Linked DNA regions of Homo sapiens: region 2 is linked to region 1. Evidence: promoter capture Hi-C in 16 types of primary human blood cells and fetal thymus (Javierre and others, 2016). All regions are on one chromosome and are shown on one strand. The core of a region is centred on a gene start or on the middle of the fragment in contact, and the rest is flanking DNA. Distances in the headings are between cores, read along the strand shown.

What was found. Contacts are between HindIII fragments. The CHiCAGO score rates a contact against its expected background, and 5 or more counts as called.
Region 2: a contact is called between a fragment that was not itself captured here and the fragment with the promoter of STAP1 in region 1, in 1 of 17 cell types (non-activated CD4 T cells). The highest score is 5.7, in non-activated CD4 T cells.

Annotation. Positions count from the first base shown.
Region 1 is chr4:67,556,724-67,560,327 of GRCh38, forward strand. STAP1 (signal transducing adaptor family member 1) reads left to right here and starts at 2,004. Exons shown (of 9, transcript NM_012108.4): 1 at 2,004-2,206. The coding sequence starts at 2,087. The HindIII fragment of the contact is 12,125 bases long and covers 1-3,604 here.
Region 2 is chr4:70,721,790-70,725,393 of GRCh38, forward strand. It overlaps RUFY3 (RUN and FYVE domain containing 3), which reads left to right and starts at 175. Exons shown (of 18, transcript NM_001037442.4): 1 at 175-962. The coding sequence starts at 785. The HindIII fragment of the contact is 1,757 bases long and covers 665-2,421 here.

The DNA of each region.
Region 1 (3,604 bases), core at 754-3,253:
CTAAAAAATAGTTATGGTTTTTGCCTCAAAAAATTCAGTTGGACTTATATTTTATTATTTGAAGGTTGGGTAGCAAGAAGCAGGTCTAAACTTACAAAAGCAAAGCAGTCATTTTGGATCTTCAACTCCCTATTTCTGTCTTGAGCTGTTTTCATTTTGATAATACATCTGAACACTCTTCTCTAACTTACTGATAATCAGTCCGTATTGTTCTACCTCACTTTGTAGACAATTTGTCATCCCATATCTACAGCTGCAGGATCAGTGGGACCCATACTGGTGGAGAAAACCATGCAGTCTCTCCATTAGGAAAGGAGAATCAGACTGAAGACTCCTGACTTGCTTTGATTTCTAATAATAGGCTGGTCTCACTGGGCCCAGGCTGTTCTAAATCTAGAGTAGTTCTGAAATACTGAGTGTGAAATAGGCAATGGTAGAAATTCTTAGGACCCCTGTAAGACAAATCAAAATTCCTTCTAGTATTCTTTTCTCCCATCATTTCCTGCACTGTGCTACGCCAAATCCAATCTCTTAAGGACCATTTCCTACATGCAACCATTGAGTGCACTTTGGCCCCAGTATAGCTTTATAAATCTCACTAGATAACTGTGGGAAGTCCATCCATGAATCATAGTATCAATGGTCTGCAGCTCAGAAAGCACAAAAGAACAAAATAAAAGTTTGAAAACTTACAGCTTTCTCTGCCAGATATTTTTTTGCCAAATATCTTAGACTCCTTTGTGTTGCTGTAACAGAATGCCACAGACTGGTAATTTATAATGAACAGAAATGTATTTCGCTCATGGTTCTGGAGTCTGGAAGTCAAAGAACATGGCCAGCATCTGATGAGGACCTTCATGCAGCATCATTCCATGGCAGAAGATAGAAGAGCAAGAGAGGATGATAGCATGTGAGAAAGTGCCAAACTTGATTTTATAAAAAACCCACTTCCAGGCCAGGTGCAATGGCTCACACATGTAATCCCAGCACTTTGGGAGGCCACAGCAGGAGAATCGCTTGAGCCCAAGAGTTTGAGACCAACCTGGGCAACATAGGGAGATACTGTCTATACAAAAAATGAAAAAGTTAGCTAGGAGTGGTGGCGCGTGCCTTGTAGTCCCAGCTACTTAGGAGGCTGATGTGTGAGGATTGTTTGAGCCTGAGAGGTCAAGGCTGCAGTGAGCTGTGATTGCACCAGTGTATTCCAGCCTGGGCAACAGAGCAAGACCCTGCCTCTGAAAAAAGAGAAAGAAACCCACTCCCACAGCATTAATTAATTCATTCATTCATGAGGGCAGAGGCCTCATGACTTAATCACCTTCTAAAAGTCCCATTTCTAAACACTGTTGCATTGGGGATTAAGTTTCTAACACATAAGTTTTGGAGGACACATTCAAAACATAGCACTAAATATTCATTGGGAACTCATGTACTTGGAATATCTACTGGCAAAAAAAAAAAAAAAAGAAAGAAAGAAAAAAGAAAAAAATTCCATATTCCGTGTTCCCATAATTGTGGTTTATATTTAGTGAAGCATCAAATGAGCATGAGATACAACTATTTTTTTTATTTACACAAAACTTGACCCTAAAATATTTAACCAACAGAAGTAGTACTAATAAAATTATTCTATGAAGTAATTTTTAATGAAGCTGAGTTTATTCAAGTCATGTCTTCTGCAAATAAAAATGGACACCAATAAACAAAAACAAAGATAGAAAGAATAACTGTGTTCTTGATATCTCCCCTAAAGTTCACAATCTCTACACCTGTTTCTTTCATCTTCTGGTGATGTTAATCTTCTGTTTATTTTGCGCTTTAAATCTAAGCACATGTGGATTACCCAGAGATTGCCCTCTGAAAGTCAGTCTACACCTGTTCTTTCTTACCTCACAAAAAGTAATGGAAAAAAAAGTGTGTGTGTGTGTGTGTGCGTCTGTGTGTGTGTGTGTCCTGTTGGTGGTAGTGTTGGTGGTTAAAAAGCAATTTGGGACTTCCTCTTTGAACAGTTGCCTTTTCCTCTCACAGAAGGAAGATTTCATTTTGTTTGAGACGAGAAACCAAACCACACACCAAAGAGAGGGGTATGATGGCTAAGAAGCCCCCAAAACCAGCCCCTCGCAGGATCTTCCAGGAAAGGTTAAAGATTACTGCTCTACCTTTGTACTTTGAAGGTTTTTTATTAATCAAGCGGTCAGGATACCGGGTGAGTCTATAGATGATAATGTTAAACCTAAGACTTCTGTTTTAATTTAATATTTATTTCATGGTGATGTGATGTGTTAAGACCTCCTTGTTTCTGTTGAAATTAAATCATCTTCTCTTCTTTGAGCTCAGAAAAATGATTCCAATTTTTCATAATTTAAATACAATGTCTGGCTTAAACCTGTATGTATACACATATATAATATGTATAATAACAGAGGTTGTAATATTAAGGCACTAATATAAAAAAGTCAATAAGCTAAATTTCCAAAGAATTTATTTAAATATCACAAAAGATTTTGGCTTGGGAGATAAAATGTTTCTTGTATTTTCTCCACAATTTATTGCTATGCTTCAATGATGACATGTACCATTAAGATAAAATGATATCATGATTAAAATTAAACCTGCTCCTGTTCTGAGTCATTTGAAGTTTATAATGATCAAATTATTAAAAATGGCTTTTGTAAAAATTGTTAAAATGACAAAGTTCATACTGTTTAACATTATATATAGTTATGTGTTCTAAAATACTATTCAAGATAGTGACTTTTAATTTTTGGGGTACTACTGTGGGTATTAAGTACACTAAGCTACATAAATACCTTTGCTCTAAGAAAATCCATGAAGCATTCTGTATTTTTAAATGTAATAATTAAAACTTATAGTTAGTTAAAATCATTACTTTTAAAACAGTAATTATGGATGACTTGAAATTAATTAGAGAAATAAGCCCAAAATTGCCTGTTATTAAATAAAAAAATCATTAAGTTAGGTCAAATTTTATGAAATTGTATACTGACTAAAACTAGAAAAATTTTAAGGTTTTCAGAAATTCCATCAGAAATGTTTAATGATGCTAAAATATATTTTCTGAGGATTTATGAATACTTGTGGAAAAATTATATATATGAAAAATCTATAATAGCATATTCACATTTCTTACATATATAATCAGATCATTTACTATTTGAGAGTAAAGACATGGTAATTTGTATTCTGTTATGGATGTTAAACATGCATAAATAATTACCTTTCAGTTATATTAGAATTTTTTAGATTGATCCTATATGCTTTTAATGTAAATTCAATCTTGTCACCACAGGTAAGCCACATAGTCACACTTTGCCAGGAAAGGGAAGTTGAGAAAAAAAAATTCTAATTAGTAATTTAAATCAGGTTGTTCATTGAATGTTTTCCAAGGTATTTATAATAACTGTTTATGATAGCAGTTTTTTTTAAATGCTTAAAGAAGACATGTCATTGGTATGGTTAGCAGAAAGAATAAGAATTTTAGAGTGTCCTTTATCTGATGGTTTTGCCACTTATAGCTTGTGATCTTGTGCAAGTTACTCAATCTCCTTGAGACTGTTTCAACTATAAGATAGAGAGTATACTA
Region 2 (3,604 bases), core at 293-2,792, 3.2 Mb after region 1:
GCATTGTGTTATGTCTGATCACAGTTTGACTAGCACAGTCTGGAAGTGGGTTGTACAGGATGAGAGAGAGAAGCCTAATTGCTCTCCCAGCATCAGCAGCATCTATAAAGCATCCTGGGAATTGCTTGCCCTACGTTCAGAGCAGCTGGTCACATGAGCCTGAATTTTCAGTTCAGTTCATTAGTCAGCCATTTTGGTCAACACCCTGCTTACTGCGCACGGCCAATCCTATGAGAACTCAGCATCCCAGCTCATCTGAGCAGATCCTGGAAGTGATTTCTGCAGCTCAGGATTTTTTTTTTAAGCTACATTGAAAATATAGGTTTATTTTTTGTTCAGGTTTTTCTTTTATATTTTTTTTCTGCACAAAGGAGGAGGATTTTTCACTTACTCATATCGAGGCCAGATTTTTAAAGCCAGCTAAGGCAGCATCAGCTGTGCGGGATTTAAAGCCTATAGCTCAGCTGAAAAAAAAGGTGGGGGGCAGGGAAGGGAAGATAAAAGGAGAGGAAGCTGGGAGAAGACAAGCATCATCTTATTTTGCTATGTGGTAGGAACTGTCTATAAGATAGTGTAGAATTGTTTATCTTGAGCAGTTTGTTCTTAACCTATAAGGTATTTTTCCTTTTTTTTTTTTTTAAACCTCCCCCACCCTTTTCCTGAAAGCTTTGTTTCAGAGCTTTGTATTGGGTTTTTTTGGTGAGGAGGTTGTATTTATTTTTTTGGTGTGTGTGTGTGAGTGTGTGTGTGTCTGTGTGTGTGTTGTGGTCCCAGCTGAGTCATCATGTCTGCTCTGACGCCTCCGACCGATATGCCAACCCCCACCACTGACAAGATCACACAGGCTGCCATGGAGACCATCTACCTTTGCAAATTCCGAGTGTCCATGGATGGAGAATGGCTCTGCCTGCGAGAGCTGGATGACATCTCACTTACACCTGACCCAGAGCCTACCCATGAAGGTATGGTCAGATCCTGTCCGCTAGTATTTCACCAGCATCCTCATTGTTATGGGGGAGGGCTGGGAGGATCAGGGAGAGGTAGAAAGAACCTACACTCTCAACTGTTAACAGTCCTGAAAACCTTGCATCCTTACTTACCACCCAGCTCCCCTTCTCTTGCTCATGGGGGAAAGATAATTTTTTTTCTTGCCCCTTTAGGTATCCTTTCAAAAGATGCTGGATACTCGTTTAGAGTTCTTTGTCTTTAAGCCTCTAAATAAAACATTTGAGGTCACTTATCACATCTGATTCTATTCAATAATGAGAAAGCTATTAATTTTGTTCATATATGAAAATGTTATAGAAATTGTAGTGATTTATAACACTAAGTTAAGACAACATGACTATAATTATAGGATTGTACATGATGAATACAGTAGAAACACCAGGGTATTTGGTAATGGTATCCTCACCATTATATGAGGATACAATTTTAAGCAAGTTATGACATCTAGGAAATGTTTGATAAAACATTTTTTTAACAATATGGATTATTAGGTTAGATGAGAAAATAACTTTTCAGCATTTATTTATTGAATATGGACTCCTAAGAAAGCATAATGCCTGGAAAGGTTAAATATGATTAATATGGCATCCCTATAGATTACAATAGAATGGTAATATTGGAATCTATTGGCCATTGCTTTTTATAAATTATTTGTGGTAACTATTATGATCCATTTGAGATTTCCACTGTCAGTACCTCTGAGATCTTTGTGGTCTCTTGACTTGCGACTTTTTTCCAGGACTCTTGCTAATTTATGAGAGGTTTTCTGCTTCTACCCTTTAATTCTCTTAATACCACAGAAAGAGAGCTGATTTGAATCATAGCTACAAATCGTTTTGTTTTTAATACAGTTGCTTCTTAGCTAAGGTTTATTCTCTGTCCTTATACTGATGAAAAAAAACAAAAAACGCTTGCATATGAGGAGAAATTCTTTATAAACATCTGCCTGATAGTTAGGCACATCGACAGGACAAAGAAGACCATAGGTGAATTGTACCTAGCAGATGGGGTTAGGAAAGGTGATTCTCTGCCTTTGACCTTGAGTTGAAATCTTATCATGACTCAGAATTTTCCCATTGTGTTTGATAAGCATTTTATCTTCCCAGTCAGCCTTAGCCTTGAGAAAGTTTTAGGGATGGTTAATAACACAGAACACAAAGCAGTCATTTTGGGTGTGTCTTTAAGAACAATGTTTAAGTGGTTTTTAAGACCCTTTGCATCTTTTAACAATTGGTTTGTTAATTAGACAGCTTTCTTTGGCTGTATGTTTCGTTATGTGCACAAGTTATAAGACATCAGCTGAAATTCCATGCAATGCCAGTACTATTTATTTTTTATTATTATTTTATTCTATATTTTCATCAAAACATCGTTACATCCAACAATTCCAGTACTACTTAAAACAGCCTCCAAAGCTTTAAAAGTCTTTAGGGAAGAAAAATACAGTTTTAGAAGGCTACCAAGAAGTCTTCTGGCAACTGCCTCAGTTTACATATTTTGTTTGAAAAAAATGTATTCCCGTCCAATTTGAGAGTTATACAATATGAAATATTCCCTTTATCATGAAATCTAGTTTACCAGTGTCTCAAAAATAATTTTTAACAATTTTAACACCTCAAATATATGTTTTTGGAGCAGGATTCCTATGGATAAGCAAAAGTGAGCTGTTTGGTTCATGTAAGCGTTTTTAGCAGCGCCATTTGAATTCTTCATAGAGAAATCTGTAGCAACACATTTCTCAGTATGGAAAATGTGTGAGAGCTATAATCTAAGTAATAAATTGTATGTCTGCTGATTAAAGAAATCAGATAAATACAGAGTTTCCAAGACCTGTAATCAACTATAGAGGATTTGGAAGAAAATAGAGAAATGCCGACAGTGCATTTTAGAATTTTGCCTTAAATTGGGCAAGAAAGCTATTATTTTAAATTACTAGAAATGAAAATAAAGAAAGCATAGTCCCATGAAAGCCTGTGAGTATTACTGCCTTGCTCCATTACCAAACTCTGGATATTTAAACAGTCATTTGGTCCCAAGAAATACCCACTTTTATGTTAATACCACTGATAGTTATTAGATTTAATTTAGCTATAAGCATTTAAGTGGTGGTCACCAGGCCCATGATTATGTGAATCTCACCTTGTTCACAAAATGGAACTCCTGATGTCTGGACGCGGGAGTATTCAGACTGCTTTCCGGGCTGATTCACAGAGGGAAAAACATCTGACCACCCAAATCCTAGAGTGAAGTCTCCTCACTCCCACAAAAGAAAATAGGCAAACAGCATAATGTTCCCTCTTAAAATGATGTAGACTGACTGTGTGTACTCAGCAATAGAGGCTCTGTGGCTTCCATATTTTATTTTCTTAAAACCAGAGTTCCTGGCCCTTCACTGAGCAGTCCGCAGTATAGGCCTGGACCTAGAGTTTCTGCCTACTTTAACCCTTAAATAAATGAAAATAAAAGCATTCACTTCATTATCTCAATGCTTATTGGTGGTCAATGAGGGATTATCTCTCTTTTGTCTTATATACTCTTTTTTTTTTTTTTGAGACAGAGTTTTGTTCTTATTGCCCAGGCTGGAGTGCAATGGCGC